2 separate regions of the Homo sapiens genome follow, and region 2 is linked to region 1. Evidence: promoter capture Hi-C in human tissues and cell types (Jung and others, 2019). All regions are on one chromosome and are shown on one strand. Each heading gives the region's core, a stretch centred on a gene start or on the middle of the fragment in contact. The rest is flanking DNA. Distances are from core to core; before and after follow the strand shown.

Region 1 (5,132 bases), core at 1-2,500:
GGTGCCCCTGTATCATTCCCCAAATCGCCTCGAGTTGGGGTAGCCCTCACTGCAATTGCCCAGATCCCTGGGCAGCAAGGAGACTAACAAGCGCCGGCGAAGGGCAGCGGGTCTAGAACCTTCTGTGCCCAGTCGGACGTGAGCCAGGGGAGGTAGGCTCCCCGTTCCCCCATGGCCTGCACTCGCTCTTTCGAGCAGAGACAGGTGTCGCTCTTTTCTCCCCGGTGGCTGTTTGTCCCACGCCCTGGACGTGCCCTTTCGCATGGTTCCCAGCAGGGTCCGCAGGGAACACCCCTCCAGTGCAGCGGAGTGAGGCCCGGCCAGACCCCAGCTTCGCTTCGTTCTCCAAGGGGGGCGCCCGTCGCTCTCCCCACCCCCGCCAGCACCCAGCCACCTGCGCGGTCGCCCGCAGCCGGTGCCGCAGTGTGAGCTAGCCAGCGAGCCCGGTTCCTTCACGCCCTGGCCAGCGCCGCGGAGCCAGCCGCCGCCCTCCGGGCCCCCTGCAGCGCCGCACCTGCACCCACACCCCGGGCCCCCCACCCAGAGCCCACCCTCACCTCCACCCCAGGCTCCAGCGCCTCCTCCGTCCTCACCCTTGGCCCCTCCCCAGCCCGACCCCGCCCCGACCTCCCCATCCCTGTCCCTCTCCTCTACCCTGGCAAGGAGGGGCCTTTCCGAGCCTGGGCCGGGGGTCCCAATGGGGTGGGCGATTGGGCGGCGGGGGTCGACTCGGCGACAAGCCAAGAGATTAAGCCGGGTACTTACCGCTCTGCTCCCCCAAGAACACCAACTTGAATTTTCTCAGTGGATTCCCAAAATCTCCCCCTGCGGACATGGTGCTGGCAGCCGGGGCCGGGAGAGGAGGAGGAGGAAAAAGCGAAGGAGCAGGGAGGGGAGAGTAGGAGGGCGAGGGGAGGCGGCCGGCGGTGCGGGAGCCGGAGGGGGAAGGGCTGGCTGCGCGCGTCCCTGACTCCCCAGCTGCGTCCCGGTCCCGGCCTGCGGCTGCGTGTCCGGCGGCGGAGGAGGAGGAGGAGAGAGAGGCGGAGGCGGAGGAAGGCTGGGGCTGGGCTGCTGCGGTCGGCACTGGCTGCGGTGCGAGGGGCGCGCTCTTTACGCCCGAGGCGCGGCGCTGGGAGAGAGGCGCGGGCGGAGCGGGGCGCAGGGACGGCGCGCGGGGCGGAGGAGCGCTCTCCAGAGCCGCGCCAGTCGGCCCCCTCCCGCCTGCCTCCTCCGCCGGCGCCTGCGCTCTGTGCGCTCCCCAGCCTCTGATGTCATGCGGGGCCCGCGGGGCTGCGGGGCTGGGGGGCGTGCGCCCGCCCACCCGAGCCCGCACCCGGGCAGGAGAGAACCTCCTCGCCGTACCCCTGAGAGCCCCCCGGGGGGGACCGTGTCTCGCTGCCCCGCTGCGTCTGTCTTCCCCACTCTACCCCTCTTTTGAATCCAGAAAATGACAGAAATTGTCAGGGGACATTTGTTTCTGGTCTTTTAAACCTAGATGCCAGTCCCTTCCTCCACCTCGCGAGACACCGATGCACAGCGCAGTCGTCCGACCGACAGGGCGGAAAGGAACGAAGGTGGGGGAGAGCCAGGGTGTGGCGAGGCCCGTCAGGGCGGTCAGACCTAGGGAAACCTGGCGTACTTGGCGCAGATGGGGCTCGACTCTTGCCCCCCGTGGCTTCTAGCCCGCCCTTCCCTCTCGAGGCCTAGACCCTTTATTTGGGCGGCCTCTTGTGGAGTCTGTGGGTGCCCCCGCAGACCTGGCCAGCGAGAGAGGAGCTGCCAATATCAGGCGCGCCTACCTCAAACCAGCTGCTCATTTGGATCATTTTATGCCAAATCCTAACCTGCCCCATGGGAGAGAAGGAACGGTGACGCTCTGAATGCCAGTGCCACTATCTCCAGGACAGTGCCCTGCGTTTCTTGATCCCGGGGTCGCCAGGCTGACAATGCCACTCCCCACCCTGGCAATTAGGTGTATCTGGACAATGAGCTATCTGAGGACATGTGGGCGACCTCTCCTTGGCCTCTACTTGCCTGGTCCATCGAGGCACACAGACCAAGTTGTGAGTGAGTGAGAGCAAAGAGCAGACGCCAAGTGCTAGAAACACTCCCAAGACAGCCCGAGCCTAAGGCATGCTGGTTAATTGAGGTTTTACAAAGCTGTCCCTTACTGTTCTGCCACAGCGTGGTCTTGTTCATTTATGGCTGTTCAGTGAGCATTTATTTGAGATAATAATCTGCATGTCGGTGAACACGATGGTGTGTGCACGCATGTGTTATAGAAAGAGAAAGAGGAGTGAGACACAACCTTCACCTCCAGATTTCTCGTGGACACTTGTTACCCCCTTTTTGACTTATGGGGCTTGCTTGGGCAAGCCTATCTGTCTCCCTGGTGTGCTCACCTCGAATCTCTTTCCTATTTCTTGTTAGAAACCTGACCACAAGTTCCATAAAAGCAGTAGTTGAAGCTCCACCACTGCATCCCAAGGACATAGCTCAGAGTTTAAGAAATAGTTGTTGAATGTTTGAATGAACATCTAGAACTCAAATCAAAATAACTGTCCTATTCTCATAATTACCTTTAGTTTGGAACCCCAGGGATTGTAAGTCATCACCTAGAATATCTGCCCCGTTGTGGCTGGCACCAGGCTCAGGGTAACCCTCCAGACACCCACCCACTTCTCTGGGGCTCCTGCTCTCTTAGGAGACCATATCCAGCTTGGGGTTGAAGAAAGCTCTGAAAGGAGAGGAGACTCCCAAGTCACAGCCCTTCCCGTCTCTATAAGTGATCCCTCCAAAGAAGGGCCAGTGAGCTACTGGCCAAGGTACCCAGCCATGCAACACTCCTCCAACCTGCACCTTCTCCTAACATCTAGTGCTGTCTCCCTGTACCCTCTCATCCTGACCTGATGAGATCATCGGTGGCAAGACAAAACAGCTGAGGTGTGCCAGAAAAGGCACCATCTTTTGGGTAAGCCTAGGCAGGTCCTGTACCTCCTCTGATCATCTGGTCCCGCACATGTAAGGTGGTATGGCAGTAGGGGAGGGAGGGCTGGGGCAGGGCCCCTCTGGGCACCTCTAAGCCTCCAAGTCATCCCATATGCTTACCAGGTCCAGCTGGGCTGACTATGGTCCAGCTTACTTTGGGGGACTCTGTCATAATTCTTCCAGTTCAAATGACAAAAACCCGGCTCCGACTACCGGGCTCACGTCGCTGGAGCAGATACTGGCATTGCTCTCAGAATGCAGTCATCATGCTGTGGAAATGAGAGCCTTAGAGACTCCAAGTTTGCTCTGCTCCAAGTCTCTCTCCTCCAACTATCATTGCTTATCTCCCCTGATTTTGAGTCTTGTCCTTAACCTGCCCTAAAGCAGACAGACTTTCTCCAGGTGGAAAATGGGGCCACTGAACCTCAGCCTGGCAACCTCACTAGAAAGAGTTTCTTCCATATCATAGAATCTGTGCATTCCATTTAAAAAAATTCTTTAAATCTTCCTATTTAGTATGTGCTGTGTATATGTAAGTTACAAAGAAAACCTATCACTCTGAGTGCCCATTTACCCTCTACACAGCTGGAGGGCTCAAATATTATAGTACTTTTCAGGCCCCCAGGTGCTTTCTTCTCCTTCCTCCCTCCCCAACTTGGAAATCCAGAATCTTAGCTTTTCTTTGAGTTTTATCACATTGGATGTGTCCTTCACAATACTTTGTTTTGTTTTGCATCTTTTGAATCTTATATAAGGTATCAAACTGTGTTTTCTGTCCTGACTTGCATGTTTCTTAACATCATGTTTCTGAGATCCATTTGTTAATTCATGTAGCAGCAGTTCTTTCATTTTCACTGCTGGTTAGTATTCTAGTTATGCCCCAATTTTTAAATGATTTTCTGTAAAATGTGTCATTTAAAATTTTTATTTTATTTTATTTTATTATTGTTGTTATTATTTTTGAGATGGAGTCTTGGTCTGTCACCAGGCTGGAGTGTAGCGGCGCCATCTCGGCTCACTGTAACCTCCGCCTCCCAGGTTCAAGCAATTCACCTGCCTCAGCCTCCCGAGTAGCTGGTACTACAGCCACGCACCACCAGGTCTAGCTAATTTTTTTATTTTTAGTAGAGCCGAGGTTTCACCATGTTGACCAGAATGGTCTCAATCTCTTAACCTCGTGATCCGCCTGCATCAGCCTCCCAAAGTGCTGGGATTACAGGTGTGAGCCACCACGCCTGGCCTTTTTTAAAATTATTTTAAATAATTTTATACTCACATAGAGGTTATAAAAAACAGTGCAGGGAGTTACTATGTATCCTGCACCAAGCTACCCCAGTGATAACATCTTACATAACCACATTGCTTAGTAAAACCAGGAAATTAACATTGGAAAATGCACTCAGTTTTGTTTCTGCTATTAACAAACAATGCTGCCATCAACATTCTTTACATGTCTCTTGATGCCTCTGTGAAGTTTTTCTAAGATATGTGTCAGTAGGTAAATTGTGGTATAAAAACAAGTGTACGTTTAATTTTGTGCCAAACTATTTTTCAAAGATATTCGTTAGATCATATAGCACTACAGCATCATCTATATTTTTCATTTTCTTCAAGATCTTGGTTTTCCTGAGCCCTTTGCTGTGTTATATATATATATATATATATTTAAATTAAATTTTTGAGATCATTGTAGATTCACAAACAGGAAAAAAAAAAAAGACAGATCTGTATATCCTTTATCTAGTTTTCACCAAGAGTAAGATCTTGCAGAACTTTATACTACAGTATCATAATGTGGATACTGGAATTAAGACAGTCAAGGTACATTTCTGTTCTGTACCTTGACACACAAAGAGCCCTCATGTTCCCCTTTTATAGCCACACCCACTTTCCTCCCACCCTCAACCCCTTCCTAACCTCTGGCAACCACTAATCTGTTCTTCATTTCAATAAATGTGTTATTTCAAGAATCTTATATAAGTGGCATTACACAGTATATCACCCTTTGGGATTGTTTTTTTCACTTCACCTGGCTGGAGCACTCAAATATTACAGTACTTTTGAGGCCCTCAGGTGTTTCTGCCCCTCCCTCTCTCCCCAGCTTGAAAATCCAGAACTGTGGCTTTTCTTTGAGTTTTTATCAC
Region 2 (5,049 bases), core at 196-2,695, 210 kb after region 1:
TTTTTAAAATTAAAATTACATAGTTTTGAAAACATAGCCTGCTAAAACAATCAAGGATAGGTAAAGATATAACATGCAAACGCTAAGAGGAAGGCAAGTATAGCATTATTAGTATCAGTCAAAACAGTAAAAATCACAAACTGGGGCAGAGGAGGATATTTGATAAGAGGTATAATAAGAGGTACTTGATAAGAAGTACAATAAAAGGATTATACCCCTTATTAATAAGAAAACATGGCAGTCATAAACCTTTATGCACCAAACATGTTTTGCAATACGTGAAATAAAAACTGGCAGGTATAAAAGGCCAAATTTACATATCTATTATCATAGTGATAATAGATATGTCCCAAAAATCTGAGTCCCAAAAATATTCCTCAGTTTCTCTTAGAAACTGGTCAATCATGTGGTTGAAAATTATAAATAATAATATAGAGAATTTAAAAAGCAAAATTAAGAAGCTTAGTACAAAAGATAAAGTTAGAACTTTGTACTCAAAAAACAGAATACACATAGAACTTCCACAAAAGCTTACCAGGTAATAGGCCACAAAGGAAATCTCCAAAAGTTCTCAGAATAAGAAACACATATGCCATATTTGCTAACCATAATTCAGTATAATTAGAAAATAGTAATCACACAGACAAACACACACACACGCCTACTTGAAAATAATTCAATTTTCTTTTCTTTTCTTTTTTATTTTTATTTTTTAAGACTGTCTCGTTCTGTCACCCAGGCTGGAGTGCAGTGGCACAATCTCGGCTCACTGCAACCTCTGCCTCCCAGGTTCAAGGGATTCTCCTGCCTCAGCCTCCCAAGTAGCTGGGACTACAGGCACGTGGCACCACACCTGGATAATGTTTTGTATTTTTAGTAGAGACAGGGTTTCACCATGTTAGCCAGGATAGTCTCGATTTCCTGACCTCGTGATCTGCCTGCCTCCGCCTCCCAAAGTGCTGGGATGACAGGCATGAGACACCGCGCCCAGCCAAGAATTCAATTTCCTAAATTATTTGAGGTTTATAAGAACATTCAATCAAAGTCATACCTTAAACTATTTAGAAATGAGGAAAGTGACATCAGCAAGATGATAGGCTAGGAAGCTACAGACCCTCTTTCCCACACAGATATACTGAGTTATCAACAATATATGAAACAGAATACCTCTGTGAGAACTCCAGAGACCAACTGAAAAGCTACAGCACCCACGCCATTGTAAAACCAAAAAGGGATTCCAGTGAAAGCTGTAGGAAATTTGCAGTGTTTGGTGGGCTATTCATGCCCTTCCCCCTGCATAGCACAGAGCAAGCAGGAGGAATCCCCCTCAACTGTCACCATACAAGAGCTCCTCCCTTAGAATAAAAACAAAAGATCAGGGCTGGGTATGGTGGCTCAAGCCTGTAATCCCAGCACTTTGGGAGGCTGAGGCGGGCAGATCATTTGAGGTCAGGAGTTTGAGACCAGCCTGACCAACATGGTGAAACCCCATCTCTACTAAAAATACAAAAAAATTAGCCAGGTGTGGTGGCATACTCCTGTAGTCTCAGCTACTTGGGAGGCTGAGGCAGGAGAATCGCTTGAACAGAAGAGGCGGAGGCTGCAGTGAGCCGAGATCAAGCCACTGCACTCCAGCCTGGGTGACAGAGCGAGACTCCATCTGAAAAAAAAAAAAAAATAGATCAGAACATATGTCCAATATTATAGCTTTTCTGGGCCTGCCCAAGGGACTGGTTTCTGTCTCACCTGACTCAGAGTGCTGACAAACTGGAGCAAGATTTTGGAAACCACTGTAAACAGAGGCAAGCATCACATTAGAGCTATAGCTCTACAGGTAGATACCAGGAATAGCAAGAGATCAGAAATTATTTGAGAGGTCCAGCTGGGCTGAATGATGAAGACCTTCCTCTGCCTAATGCTGATACAAAGCCTGGAAGAGGTGTTTGTTTTTTTTAAATGCCCAAATCTCAGCAAAAAATTACAAGACACACAAAGAAACAGGGAAACATGGCCCAATCAAAGTAACAAAATAAACCTCCCCCAAAAAGCCTAAAGGAAAGCACATCTATGAGTTGCCTGACAAAGAATTTATAATGACTGTCATATACAGAACATTTACCCAACAAAAACAGAATATACATTATTCTCAAGTGTACATAGAACATTCTCCAACATAGATCACGTAATAGGCCACAAAACAAATCTTAACAAATTCAAGAAGGTTGAAATCACACAAGATATCTTTTTAAACACAACGGAATGAAACTAGAAGTCAATAGAACAAGGAAAACAGTAAGTCCACAAATGTGAAAATTCACACACTCTTAAACAACCAATGTGTCAAAGACAAGGTCAAAAGAGAAATTAGAAACTATTAAAAATAAGAACACAACATACCAACACTTATGGAATGCAGTGAAAGTGCTATGAGGGAATTTCATAGCTGTAAACATGTATATTAAAAAGAAGAAAGATCTCAATTCAGAAAGCCTAATTATATACCTTAAGAAACTAAAATGAAGAACACACTAAACCCAAAGCCAGCAAAGGAAGAAAATGAGTTGGTTTTTTGAAAGATCAACAAAATTGACAAAACTTAACTAGATTAAGAAAAAGAGAGAAGACTCAAATCACTAAAATCAGAAGTTAAAGGGAGACATTACAACCATTGCCACAGAAATAAAAAAAAAATTATTGGGAATATTATGAACAATTATACACTAAGAAATTGGATAACCTAGAAGAAATGGATAAATTCCTAGAAACACACAAACCACCAAGACAGAATCATAAAGAAACAAAATTTAATCAGACCAATAAAGAATAAAGAGATTAAATGAGTAAATCAAAAAACTCCCAAAACTTCCCAATACCAGATGGCTTCAGTGAAGAATTCTAGCAAACATTTAAAGAATTGGCATCAATCCTCTGGAAACTCTTTCAATGAATTGAAGAGGGAGGAACTCTTACAAGCTCATTCTATAAAGCCAGCAGTAACCTGATACCAAAGTCAGACAAAGACACTATGAGAAAACTACGGATCACTATCCCCGATGAATATTGTTGCAAAAATCCTTGGCAAATACTATCAAACTGAACACAACAGCACATTAAAATGATCATATGCCATGATTAAGTGGGATTTATCACTGAGATGGAAGGATGGTTTAACACATACCAATCAATAAATGTGATGCACCATATTAGCAGAATGAAGGATAAAATCATATGATCATCTCAATAGTTGCAGAAAAAGCATTTGAAAATATTTAATATCCTTTCATGATTCAAATAATTCACCAAACTAGGAATAAAAGGAAAATACCTCAACATAATAAAGGGCATTTATGAAAAACTCACAGTAAACATCATACCCAATGGCAAAAGACTAGAAGTTTTTCCTCTAACATCAGGAAAAAGACAAAGGTGCCCACTCTCACGACTTCTATTTGACATAGTATGAGAAGTCATCTCCAGAACAATTAGATAAGAAAAAGAAAAATGGCATCCAAATTGGAAAGGAAGAAGTTAAACTGTCTGTTTGCAGATGATATGATATTATATGCAAAAAACCTGAAAGATTCCACTAAAAAAATCTATTAGAACTAGTAAGCTAATTCAGCAAAGTTCCAGGATACAAAATCAACATACAAAAATCAGTTGTGTTTCTATACACTAATAATGAACAATCCAAAAGGAAATTAAGCAAACCATTCCATTTACAATGGCATCAAAAAGAATAAAATACTTAGAAATAAGCCTAAGCAAGGAGGTGAAAGACTTATACACTAAAAATTACAAAACATTGCTGAAAGAAATTAAAGAAAACACAAATAAATGAAAAACATCTTACGTTTTTGGGTAGGAAAACTTAATTTTTAAAAAATGTCCACACTACCCAAAGCGATCTACAGACTCAAAACAAATCTTATCAAAGTCCCAATAGTTTTGTTTTTACAGATATATAAAACATTATCCTAAAATTCATACAGAATCTCAAGGAACCCTGAATAGCCAAAAGAATTTTGAAAAAGGAAAAAAAAAAAGTTGGAGCACTCACACTTCCTGATTTCAAACTATGACAAAGCAAAATAATAACAAAAAGTGTACTGCCATACTGATATAAAGACAAATAGACCAATGAATAGAATAGTCTGTCATAAAGACAAATAGACTAATGGTACTGCCATAAAGACAAAATAGACTAATAAACAGAATAGAGATCCCAGAAATAAACCCGTGCACATAAAGTTAAATGATCTTCAACAAGTGTGCTAAGGCCACACTCAATGGAAAAAGAAGTCTCTTCAATGAATAATTCTGGGAAAATTGGATATCTGCATGCAAAGGAATAAAGTTGGGCTCTTATACCATATAGTATTCCCCCCTTATTTAAGGTTTTGCTTTCTGTGGTTTTAGTTACCTATAATCAACAGTGGTTTAAAAATATTAAATGGAAAACTCCAGATATGGACAATTTATAAGTTTTAAATTGCACATTTTTCTGAGTAGCATGATGAAATCTTATGCTGTCCCACTCTATCCCACCTGGGACATAAATTATCTCTTTGTCCAGTGTATCTACACTATATGTGCTACCCATTCATTAGTCACTTAGTAGCCATCTCAGTTATCAGATTGCCTCTTGCAATATCACAGTGTGTGTATTTGAGTACCCTGTATGTTACTTAATAATGGTCCCAAAGTGCAAGATTAGAGATACTGGCAATTTGGATATGCCAAAGAGAAGCTGTAAAATACTTCATTTAAGTGAACAGGTAAAAGTTTTCAACAACAAAACAACAATAGTAAGTCCTCACATATAAAATTATTTTAAATGTAAGTGGATCAAATTATCCAATCAAAAGACAGAGTGGCCAAATGGATTTTTTAAAAAATTCCAACCATATGCTGCCTAAGGAGACTCACTTTAGCCTTAAGGTATACACACAGACTGAAAGCAAAGGAACAGAGAAACTGAAACGCTTTACGCTGTTGGTGGAAATGTAAAATGGTAGAGCCATTATGAAAAACAGTATGGAGGTGCCT

Evidence for each region. The method cuts DNA at HindIII sites, captures the fragments that hold promoters and counts their contacts. A contact is called where the count stands out against the background at its distance.
Region 2: a contact is called between a fragment that was not itself captured here and the fragment with the promoter of RAB6B in region 1, in 2 of the 25 tissues and cell types used here (IMR-90 fibroblasts and aorta).

Annotation. Positions count from the first base shown.
Region 1 is chr3:133,894,632-133,899,763 of GRCh38, forward strand. It overlaps RAB6B (RAB6B, member RAS oncogene family), which reads right to left and starts at 1,251. Exons shown (of 8, transcript NM_016577.4): 1 at 766-1,251. The coding sequence starts at 835. RefSeq lists a silencer at 1,221-1,270. The HindIII fragment of the contact is 14,643 bases long and covers 1-5,132 here.
Region 2 is chr3:134,108,872-134,113,920 of GRCh38, forward strand. No RefSeq gene overlaps it. Among named protein-coding and RNA genes, the nearest start is that of LINC02000, 54 kb to the left of the region's middle. The HindIII fragment of the contact is 6,872 bases long and covers 1-4,881 here.